2 separate regions of the Homo sapiens genome follow, and region 1 is linked to region 2. Evidence: promoter capture Hi-C in 16 types of primary human blood cells and fetal thymus (Javierre and others, 2016). All regions are on one chromosome and are shown on one strand. Each heading gives the region's core, a stretch centred on a gene start or on the middle of the fragment in contact. The rest is flanking DNA. Distances are from core to core; before and after follow the strand shown. Region 1 overlaps MYO1D (myosin ID). Region 2 holds the start of CDK5R1 (cyclin dependent kinase 5 regulatory subunit 1).

Region 1 (5,997 bases), core at 2,938-5,437, 120 kb after region 2:
ATAGAATTCTCTTGTTCTTGTATTGGTAGCATTTACAATGAACAAAAGCATATTAATGACTCGGAGAGGTACTGCAGTAAAGAAACCTGTTAGGGCCAGGCACAGTGGCTCACGCTTGTAATCCCAGCACTTTGCGGGGCCAGGGCGGGTGGACTGCTTGAGGCCAGGAGTTCAAAACCAGCCTGGCCAACATGGCCAAATCCCATCTCTACTAAAAACACAAAAATTAGCTGGGCATGGTGACACACGCCTGCAATTCCAGCTACTCAGGAGCCTGAGGCACGAGAATTGCTTGAATACATGAAGCGGAGGTTGCAGTGAGCCAAGATTGCACCACTGCACTCCAGCCTGGGTGACACAGCAAGACTCTGTTTCAAAAAAGAAAAAAAAAGAAACCTGTTTGACTTCATTAGCATATCCCAAATGTATTTGACTTTGGGTTTTCCCACCCCATGGTGGAATTTTTGATTTGTGGAATACAGCCTGGACTTGCTGGTATCAGGTGTTTCTGGATGGTGTCTGTTCTGACTGGTCTGTGCTTGAGCCATACTGGTTGTTATATATTCTTAATGTCATCTTTTGGAATATACAGGCATAACCTGGAGATATTTTGGGTTTGGGTGCAGACCACTGCAATAAAGTGAATATCACAATAAAGCAAGTCACACAATTTTTTTTTGGTTTTCCAGTGCATATAAAAGTTATGTTTACATTATACTGTAGTCTATTAAGTTTACAATAGCATCATGTCTAAATACTGTACATATTTTAATTAAAAACAATAAGGAAAGTGTGATTTAAAAAGAACATAAGCAAACTATAACAGAGAAGCCGGTTGAATGTTCAGTTAAATCCAATGAGAGTGCTCCTTTAATTAAGCGGATATTAAAGAAGAACAAAAAATGCTAAAAATACTAATGATCATCTGAGTCTCCAGTGAGTTGTAATCTTTTTGCTGTTGGAGGGTCTTGTCTTGATGTTGACGGCTGCTTACTGATCAGGGTGGTGGTTGCTGATGGCGGGGGTGGCTGTGGCAATTTCTTTAAATAAGATAACCATGAAGTTTGCCACATTCATTGACTCTTGCTTTCATGAAAGATTTCTCTATAGCATGCGGTGCTGTTTGAGAGCATTTTACCCATAATAGGATGTCTTTCAAAATTGGAGTCAATCCTCTCAAACTCTGTCACTGCTTTATCAACTAAGTTTATATAATATTTTAGATGCTTTGTCATCATTTCAACAACGTTAACAGCATCTTCATCAGGTGTAGATTCCATCTTAAGAAACCACTTTCTCTGCTCTTCCATAAGAAGCTACTCCTCATCTATTCAAGTTTTATCATGAGATTGCAGCAATTCAGTCACATCTTCAGGCTCCACTTCCAATTCAAGTTCTCTTGCTATTTCTACCACATCTGCAATAACTTCCTCCAATGAAGTCCTGAACCCCTCAAAGCCATCCATGAGAGTTGGAATCAATGTTTTCCAAACTTCTGTTAGTGTTAATATTTTGACCTCCTCCCATGAATCACAAATGTTCTTAGTGGCATCTAGAATGGTGAATCCTTTTCAGAAGGTTTTCAGTTTACTTTGCCCAGATCCATCAGAGGAATCACTATTTATGGCAGCTGTGGCCTTATGAAATGTTTTTCTTTCATTTTGTTTTTTTTGAGACAGAGTCTCACTCTGTTGCCCATGCTGGAGTGCAGTGGTGTGATCTTGGCTCACTGCAACCTCCGCCTCCCAGGTTCAAGCAATTCTCCTATCTCAGCATCCCAAGTAGCTGGGATTACAGGTATGTGCCACCACGCCTGGCTAATTTTTGTATTTTTAGTAGAGACAGGGTTTCACCATGTTGGCCAGGCTGGTCTCAAACTCCTGACCTCAGGTGATCAGCCCACCTCGGCCTCCAAAAGTGTTGGGATTATAGGCGTGAGCCACTGTGCCTGGCCATGAAATGTGTTTCTTAAATAATCAGGCTTGAAAGTTGAAATTACTCCTTTATCCACGGGCTGCACAATAGATGCTGTGTTTGTAGGCATGGGAACAACATTAATCAAGCCTTGTACATTTCCGTCAGTGCTCTTGGATAACTAGATGTACTGTCAATGCATAGTAATGTTTTGAAAGGAATCTTTTTTTTCTGAGCAGCAGGTCTCAACAGTGGGCTTAAAATATTCAGCAAACTATGCTATAAACAGATGTGCTGTAATCCAGGCCTTGTGTTTCATTTATAGAGCACAGGCAGAGTAGATTTTGTGTAATTTTAAGGGCCCTGGGATTTTTGGAACAGTCAGTGAGCACTGGCTTCAACTTAAAGACACTAGCTGCATTAGCTCCTAACAAAAGAGTCAGCCTGTCCTCTGAAGCTAGGCATTGACCTTCTCCTCTCTAGCTACGGAAGTCCTAGATGGCATCTTCTTCCAGTGTAAGGCTATTTTGTCTGCATTGAAAAATCTGTTGTTTCGTGTAGCCACCTTAATCAATTATCTTAGCTAGATCTTCTGAATAACTTGCCACAGCTTCTCCATCATCACTTGCTGCTTCACCTTGCACTTTTATGTTATGGAGATGTCTTCTTTTCTTAATTCTCATGAACCAACCTCTGTTAGCTTCCACTTTTCGTCTGCAGCTTCCTCACCTCTCTCAGCCTTCAAAGAATTTAAGAGAGTTTAGGGCCTTGCTCTGCATTAGGCTTTGGTTTAAGGGAATGTTGTGGCTGGTTTGATCTTTTATCCAGACCACTCAAACTTTCTCCGTATCAGCAATAAGACTGTTTCACTTTCTTATTATTCATGTATTCACTGCAGTAGCACTTTTAATTTCCTTCAAGAACTTTTCCTTTGCATTCACAACTGGGCTGTTTAATTTAAGAGGCCCAGCTTTTGGCCTATCTCAGCTTTCAACCTGCGTTCCTCACTAAGCTTAATCATTTCTAGCTTTTTCTTTTCCCTTTTTTTTTTTTTTTTGAGACAAGGTCTTGTTCTGTCACCCAGGTTGAAGTGCAGTGGCACGATCATCGCTCACTGCAGCCTTGAATTCAGCCTCTTAAGTAGCTGGGACTACAGACTACAGGTGTGCACCACCATGCTTGACTAACTTTTAAATTTTTTTGTAGAGATGGAGTCTCACTATGTTGCGCAGACCTTGGTCTGGAACTCCTGGCCTCAAGCAATCCTCCCGCTTTAACTTCCCAAAGTGCTGGGGTCGCAGGAATGAGCCATGATACCTGGCTCATTTCTAGTTTTTAAAATAAACTGAGAGATGTGTAACTCTCCCATTCACTTGAACATTTAAAAGCCACTGTAGGGTTATTAACTGACCTAATTTCAATCTTGTTGTATCTCAGGGAATAGGGGAGCCTGAGGAGAGGAAGAGAGATGAGGGAATAGATGGTCAGTGGAGCAGTCAGAACGCACACGACATTGATCAGTTAAGTCTGTTGTCCTACATGGGTACAGTTTGTGGTGCCCTGAAATGATTACAGTAATAACAAAGATCACTGATCAAAGCCCACCATAGCAGTTAATAACAATATAAAGTTTTGAAATATTATGAGAATTATCAAAATTGCTGTGGCAATTTGTTAGCTCCTAACAAAAGAGTCAGCCTGTCCTTTGAAGCTAGGCATTGACCTTCTCCTCTCTAGCTATGAAAGTTCTAGATGGCATCTTCTTCCAGTGTCCAGAGACATAAAGTGAGCATATGCTGTAGGAAAAATGGTGCTAATAGACTTGATCAATGCAGGGTTGCCATAAACCTTCAATTTATAAAAACCACAATATCTGTGAAGTGTAATAATGTCAAGAACAGTAAGACGAGGTATACCTGTACTTTATTAAAGATTGTCTTCAAATGTTTTAGCAAACATAAAATATGTGGGTGTGTACTTGGAGAGGCAGAAATAATGGGTCTGGATTGAATAAAGACTGCAGGAGGTGAAAGAGAGACTAATTTATACTTAGTTGGTTTTTGTTTCAAGATTCATGTGAAAGGAAATGCCAGGAAAGTTCTGGCTTCAACTCATGGTGATGAGGAAAAATTTATTCGAGGACATGCTTTGTCTTGTTTTGTTTTCTTTTTAAATCATGGAATATCTCAAACATCAGTGTATTTTTCATCTAGAAGTTCGATTTGGGTCTTTTTCTTACATCTTCCTTATCTCTAGTTAACTTATAAACATCTGAAATCTAGTTATAATGACTTACAATGTCTGTATCTGCTAATTCTAGTATCTTTGTCTGTTCTGGGTTGGTTTCAAAGGGATGATTCTCCCCCTCATAATGGACTGTATTTTCCTATTTGCATGCCCGTAATCTTTGACTGGATGTCAGACATTGTGAATTTTACCTGTTGGGTATGGATATTTTTGTGTTTTTAGAAATATACATGAGCTTTGTTTCAGGACATAGCTAAGTTACTTGGAAGCAGTTTGATCCTTTTGGGTCTTGCTTTTAAGATTTATTAGGTGGTACCAGAGCAGCATTTATTCTAGGGCCAATTATTCCCCCCTACTGAGGCAAAACCCTTCTGAATACTGTACCCAATTACCCTGTGAATGACGAAGTTCTTTAGTCTGCCTTGTTAGATCAGAAACTACTCCTGGCTCTTTGTGAGGCTGGGCACTGTTCCCTCTGGTCCTCTTAGCTGGTTCTTGCCTCAGCCTTGGGAAGTTTTGAGCCCTTTCCTCCCAACTGCTGACAAGAACACATCTCAGAATGTACTTTAGGGAAATTATCTGGAAGATAAAGAATTGGTCTGAAGTTAATTCCCTCCCGAACCTTTGGATTTCCATAATTAACTCAGGGACAAATAAGATTATGTGCCACAACATCATGCTTATAAAATACAATGTGAATTTCAATGTCATGGCAATGATACGATAGTTGACAATAAAGGAAAATAGCTAGAAAAAATCAAATTAACCTTTTCCCAAAAAGTAAATAGTAAGTTGATGACTAAAACTCTAAGTCAAAATTTCAAGCCTGACTTTTCTGGGGTCTGGGAGGAAAGATTTTATCTCTCATTTCCACTTCACTCTTAATTCATAAGATAGAAACACCAAGAATTAAAAAAAAAAAATCCACCAAAAAATTCCTAGCATCTTGATAGTCTTCTCTTCACATTTATAAATTTTAAAGAAATTAAAAATCCTTACATACATTAAAGATAGAGGACATACGCCTAGAAATGTACCTCAGCATGCATATGCTAGCTAGGAAAAGAAAGCAACTGATGAAATCTACATCCAGGTTCACGTATTTCTGTCACTTGTAGAAGGCACTTAATAGATCAGAATTTGCTAAATAAGCACCCAGATAGAGATAAAATACTTCAATCTCCCAGGCAAAAACTCTTGCATTCATTAGTACTGGTATCCAAATTAAGAGTAACAAATTAAAATTCCTTTAATTTTCTATACTTTGCTATAAATATTAGCAGGAAAATAAGCTTGCTTATTTGAGTTATAGACATTTATTGCAGAGATGCCTTCTTTATGTCTTTTCCTTACATTCTAAACTTTTTTTTTTTTTTTTTTTTTTGAGACAGAGTCTCCTTCTGTTGCCCAGGTTGGAGTGAAGTGGCGGGATCTTGGCTCACAGCAAGCTCCGCCTCCCAGGTTCACGCCATTCTCCTGCCTCAGCCTCCTGAGTAGCTGGGACTACAGGTGCCCGCCACCAAGCCCAGCTAATTTTTTGTATTTTTAGTAGAGACGGGGTTTCACTGTGTTACCCAGGATGGTCTCGATCTGCTGACCTCGTGATCCGCCCGCCTCAGCCTCCCAAAGTGCTGGGATTACAGGCGTGAGCCACTGCGCCTGGCCACATTCTAAACTTTTTAAAATTTTTCTTAGCTTTACATTTATTTGGCAGATGGAAAGGAATTTTCAAAAGTCTATGCATTTATTATTATTTTTGGTAATTACTTTCTTATTTTTTCCCCACAAATGACCATTAAGTATTATTTTACTTACAGCATGTAAAAGCATTTAATG
Region 2 (5,127 bases), core at 1,954-4,453:
TATGGGAAGTGGGGCATGCAGGAAGAGTGGACTCTCCGGCAGTCCACGGGCAGCCCAGCCCAGCAGGGAAGCTAACAAGCAGGCTGGCCCTTCAGGCAGCTAGAGATAGGCAATAGGCTAAGTAGGCTGATTGATGGGGGTGGGATTTGGAAATCTTCCCTGCAGTTCTATGATGAAGGCAGCTAGGAAGAAAACAGCTCTGCCTCATTCAACTGGGTCTGCCTTCTGGGTCCTTGGTTCTGCCATTTCTGGCAGTTGACTGTCCTTTCTTCCTTGCTTCCAGTTGGAGCAGTGATAGGAACTGGGGGTGGGGAGGTGGTGGTGGGTTGAATGAAAAGAGGAGCTCTGTGGTGTCTGAAAACCAGCATAACAGGCATGGCCTGGGTGATAGGAGCTCCTGGAGACCCCTCCCTTAGTCGCAGCAGCAAGTGGGCTGCCAGTGCCATCCCATTCCTGCTGTGCTGCAACTGTGACTTTGCCTTGGGCAAGTGTGAGGAGGCTGGTGTTCTGCCGAGAGCTCTGTTTGAAGGTGCTAGGGAAAGGCTGGCTGGACAAAGGTGAGAAGACACAGGGTATGGCCTGGCTTGAAAAGGCCCATGCAGAGGCATGCTGCTGCAGAGTGGGAAGCAGGGTAGTGGGGTGAGCTTGGTCCGCCTCCCCGTGAATTGGAATAGCTAGAATTGAGATTGAGAGTTAAAGGTAACAGAGTGGGCCCAGGTTTTTCTAGGGGGTGGATTTTTCTTTTTTTAGCCGAAGTGTCACTCTGTCACCCAGGCTGGAATGCAGTGGCACAATCTCAGCTCACTGCAACCTCTGCCTCCCGGGTTCAAGCTATTCTCCTGCCTCAGCCTCCCGAGTAGCTGGGATTATAGGCACCCGCCACCACGCCCAGCTAATTTTTTTAGTAGAGACGGGTTTCACCATGTTGGCCAGGCTGGTCTCAAACTCCTGACCTCAGGTGATCCGCCCGCCTTGGCCTCTGAAACTGCTGGACACAGTGTGGCCATCACGCCTGGCCGGGGTGGATTATAGGCTTCAAAATTTGGACATATTTTGGGAAGTGGAAAACATTTAACCTTGGCTCAACACTAGAATCTGAAGGGGGGCACAGAGCCAACTCAGGAGCTAGAGGCTCCAAGTAAGGGCTGAGGAAAAGAGGCTGGGGTTCGGCTTTCCTTTGAGAAGGAAAAGGGACACTTGGTCAGGGTCTCGAAGCAAATCGTTTCTTCTGGCTTTTTTTTTTTTTTTTTTTTTTTTTTTGAGATGGAGTTTCGCTCTTGTTGCCCAGGCTGGAGTGCAATGGTGCAATCTCGGCCCACTGCAACCTCTGTCTCCCAGGTTCAAGCGATTCTCCTGCCTCAGCCTCCTGAGTAGCTGAGATTACAGGTGCCTGCCACCACGCCTGGCTAATTTTTTTTGTATTTTTAGTAGAGACGGGGTTTCACCATGTTGGCTAGGCTGGTCTCGAACTCCTGACCTCAGGTGATCCACCCGCCTCGGCCTCCCAAAATACTGGGATTACAAGCATGAGCCACTGCGTCGGCCTCTTCTGGCTTCTTACTGTTACATGCAGGAGGGTTGAGGACAGCTCCATTTGAAGAGCAGGTAGGCTTGTACACTGAGGAACATTCACAGGGAGGGGCGCACTGAGCTGGGGGCCTGCCTTCCTCTTCTGAGTTCCCATAACAGCTGTTGTGGATGTTCTGAAAGGCTGTGGACAAAGTAGCCCTCTGGGTACAGAGCAATGCATTTTCCACTGTATGCCTTGCCCCCCAAGGTTCCTAAAGCCTGGAATTCCTATTGACAGAAATCTGAGTGGCACATAAACAAAACCCAGCACTTTCTGCCTTGATTGCACCATTTTGAATGATGCCAGATTCCCTTTCTGTTCCCCCTAGGACAGTTGACAGGGCTGGTGAAAGCCTAGTCGGCTGGAGTGGTCAGGTAACTGGGTGGCATCCTCTCCTCTGGAGAGCCACTCCCTCATCTCTAGGTCCAGAGATAATCTGGATTAAGACAGGGCTTAAGTTTCCTGTTTCCCAGGTTTGTGGTCAGTTTTGACTCGATCTCCAGAAACAAGGTAAAATAGTAAATGAACAACAGCCTTTGTGAAGGATCTGGATTCACATCTGACAGGAACAGCTTTCAGAAACAGAATTTTACTCAATTTCGCTAGCATCAAGTTCTCAAATTATACATACTTAGAATTGAAAACGTTTAAGAGGGTCAGAAAGCTGGCCGGAGGGGCAGTTGCTTCAGCTTTAATATGACAAATAAGAGGGCGAGTGGGAACTTAGAGGTCATATTTGTGACGGGCTCAGGCTTGGCTACGGGCCACGCTTCTCTGGCTTGGATCTCTGAGGCCCACTTCGGCCGCGGTCATCTACCCATGATGAGGGAACGGAGGCCCCGGAGGGGTGGCCAGAACCGATTGGACTGTCCACTCGAGGTGCGCGTGGCACTCGGGAGGCCTCAGTAAAGGCGTCGCCTCTCCCCGCCCAGGGCCTTCTTCCCCGCGCTCCCTGGCTGCTTTCCACAGGGACGGGGATGTCAGGTGGAAGGAGGGAGCTCCGGACCCTGGCCTCGGCGGAGGGCTCCTCACCAGGCCAGGGCGGCAGCCTCAGAGAGGGCGGGCCGCGCGCTGCCAGGGCAGGGACTCGGCCGAGAGTGCCCCCGCGGCCGGCAGCTGCGGGCGCCGCGGCGGGAACAAAGGCAGCACGTGTCTGGGCGGGACGCGGGCGGGGTCGGCCCTCGGCTCCGCCCTGCTCGGCGCCCGCCCCGCGTCGGCAGAGTTGGGTTGCGCGGGCGCCGAGGACTCTCCGGCGGCCGGGCTGCTGTTGGGCGGCGGCGCGGAGCGGGCGGCGAGCTGTGCGGGAGGGGCGGCCCCGAGGGGCGGGGCGGGCCGACGCCGCGTGTCCCGCCGCAGCCGCGGAGTCCGGCTCCTAGATGGGGCCCGGCGCGTAGAGGTGCCTCCCGCTCGTTGCCGCGTCCTACCCGCACCGTGCGCGGCTCGAGCTGAGGACACCAACGGCCGCGACTCCCCGGCGAGACCAGGCCGGAGCGTGGACGGCGCGCGCGCCCCGCGAGGGAGGGCGCTGAGGCGCGCGCCGGAAGCGGGAGCGGGAGCGGGAGCGCGGCGGCGGCGGCGAAGGTGCGGGCGGCCGAGCGGGGGGCGGGGCTGCGGTGCCTGCAGAACCTTGGACAGAAGCTCCCTAGCTGCCGCCGCCGCCGCCGCCGCCGTCGCCGCCGCCGAGCGCGAGCCCAGCCGATCCCCGCCGAGCGCCCCCGAGCGCCGCCGAGCGCCGGGACCGCGGCGGCGGGGCCGCGGCGCGCATTGCGGAGGGCGCGGAGCGCAGGAGCTGCCGCCTGCCGGGTAAGCCTGCGCTGGGCGGCCGTCCTTGGCCCTGGGGAGCGGAGACCGGGGTCGCGCCCGTGCGGGGTGTCCAGGCGGGGGTCCTCGGCCGCCTCCGTCGGCGACCGGGCCCCTCCCGGCTGCGCCTGGGGACCGCAGCGGCGGCGGCGGGCGGGGGTGCTGCAGTGGAGGCGGCGAGGCTGCGTCGCGGGGGCGCGGGTAGGGCCCGGGACTGGGGCGGCGGGGTGCGCCGAGGCGCGGGGCGGAGGGGCGCAGGGGCGCAGGGGCGCGGCGCGGAGCCCAGCCTGGCGCTAAGAACCATCTTGTTTTCCAGGCAGATCCAAGGGGGCAGCACGCTTCCCGGGAGCGCCCCCGCCTCCTCTCCGGGGCCGCCGCAGGCTCGGTGAGCGGTTTTATCCCTCCGGCCGGCAGGCTGGGCGCGCAGGGGCGCGAGCCCCCGCCCGGCGCGCAGCAGCACCATGGGCACGGTGCTGTCCCTGTCTCCCAGCTACCGGAAGGCCACGCTGTTTGAGGATGGCGCGGCCACCGTGGGCCACTATACGGCCGTACAGAACAGCAAGAACGCCAAGGACAAGAACCTGAAGCGCCACTCCATCATCTCCGTGCTGCCTTGGAAGAGAATCGTGGCCGTGTCGGCCAAGAAGAAGAACTCCAAGAAGGTGCAGCCCAACAGCAGCTACCAGAACAACATCACGCACCTCAACAATGAGAACCTGAAGAAGTCGCTGTCGTGCGCCAACCTGTCCACATTCGCCCAGCCCCCACCGGCCCAGCCGCCTGCACCCCCGGCCAGCCAGCTCTCGGGTTCCCAGACCGGGGGCTCCTCCTCAGTCAAGAAAGCCCCTCACCCTGCCGTCACCTCCGCAGGGACGCCCAAACGGGTCATCGTCCAGGCGTCCACCAGTGAGCTGCTTCGCTGCCTGGGTGAGTTTCTCTGCCGCCGGTGCTACCGCCTGAAGCACCTGTCCCCCACGGACCCCGTGCTCTGGCTGCGCAGCGTGGACCGCTCGCTGCTTCTGCAGGGCTGGCAGGACCAGGGCTTCATCACGCCGGCCAACGTGGTCTTCCTCTACATGCTCTGCAGGGATGTTATCTCCTCCGAGGTGGGCTCGGATCACGAGCTCCAGGCCGTCCTGCTGACATGCCTGTACCTCTCCTACTCCTACATGGGCAACGAGATCTCCTACCCGCTCAAGCCCTTCCTGGTGGAGAGCTGCAAGGAGGCCTTTTGGGACCGTTGCCTCTCTGTCATCAACCTCATGAGCTCAAAGATGCTGCAGATAAATGCCGACCCACACTACTTCACACAGGTCTTCTCCGACCTGAAGAACGAGAGCGGCCAGGAGGACAAGAAGCGGCTCCTCCTAGGCCTGGATCGGTGAGCACTGTAGCCTGCGTCATGGCTCAAGGATTCAATGCATTTTTAAGAATTTATTATTAAATCAGTTTTGTGTACAGTATGTGTCTAGCAAAGCCACCAAGGGCCTCACCTTTCCCACAGTCTCTCCCTGGGGTTTTTTTCATCCCTGCCAAGAACTCTGGGCACTTTTGAACTCACGAGCCTTGCGCAAAACCCAGAAGATGTATTCAGAGCCACCCAGGCCACTGACCTCCCACTTTGGGGAACTCAAAGGACTGACCTGCCCCTGCCGCCTGTGCCCTTGCTGGGTCCAGGGTAGGCAAGGCTGCCGGCTGCACCCTGTATGGAGCTAGAGAGGGGCCTCTGGCTGCCTGGCCCAGGGAGGAATTGGGGT

What was found. The method cuts DNA at HindIII sites, captures the fragments that hold promoters and counts their contacts. A CHiCAGO score of 5 or more calls a contact.
Region 1: a fragment that was not itself captured here is called in contact with the fragment with the promoter of CDK5R1 in region 2 in 14 of 17 cell types (naive CD4 T cells, naive CD8 T cells, total CD8 T cells and 11 more); the score reaches 33.1 in naive CD4 T cells.

Annotation. Positions count from the first base shown.
Region 1 is chr17:32,597,999-32,603,995 of GRCh38, forward strand. The region is part of intron 21 of MYO1D (myosin ID); the gene reads right to left. Among named protein-coding and RNA genes, the nearest start is that of CDK5R1, 110 kb to the left of the region's middle. The HindIII fragment of the contact is 2,527 bases long and covers 2,925-5,451 here.
Region 2 is chr17:32,483,790-32,488,916 of GRCh38, forward strand. It overlaps CDK5R1 (cyclin dependent kinase 5 regulatory subunit 1), which reads left to right and starts at 3,204. Exons shown (of 2, transcript NM_003885.3): 1 at 3,204-3,373; 2 at 3,687-5,127. The coding sequence starts at 3,832. The coding sequence ends at 4,755. RefSeq lists enhancers at 1,990-2,491, 3,731-4,290 and silencers at 2,564-3,093, 3,204-3,463, 3,554-3,843. The HindIII fragment of the contact is 10,728 bases long and covers 1-5,127 here.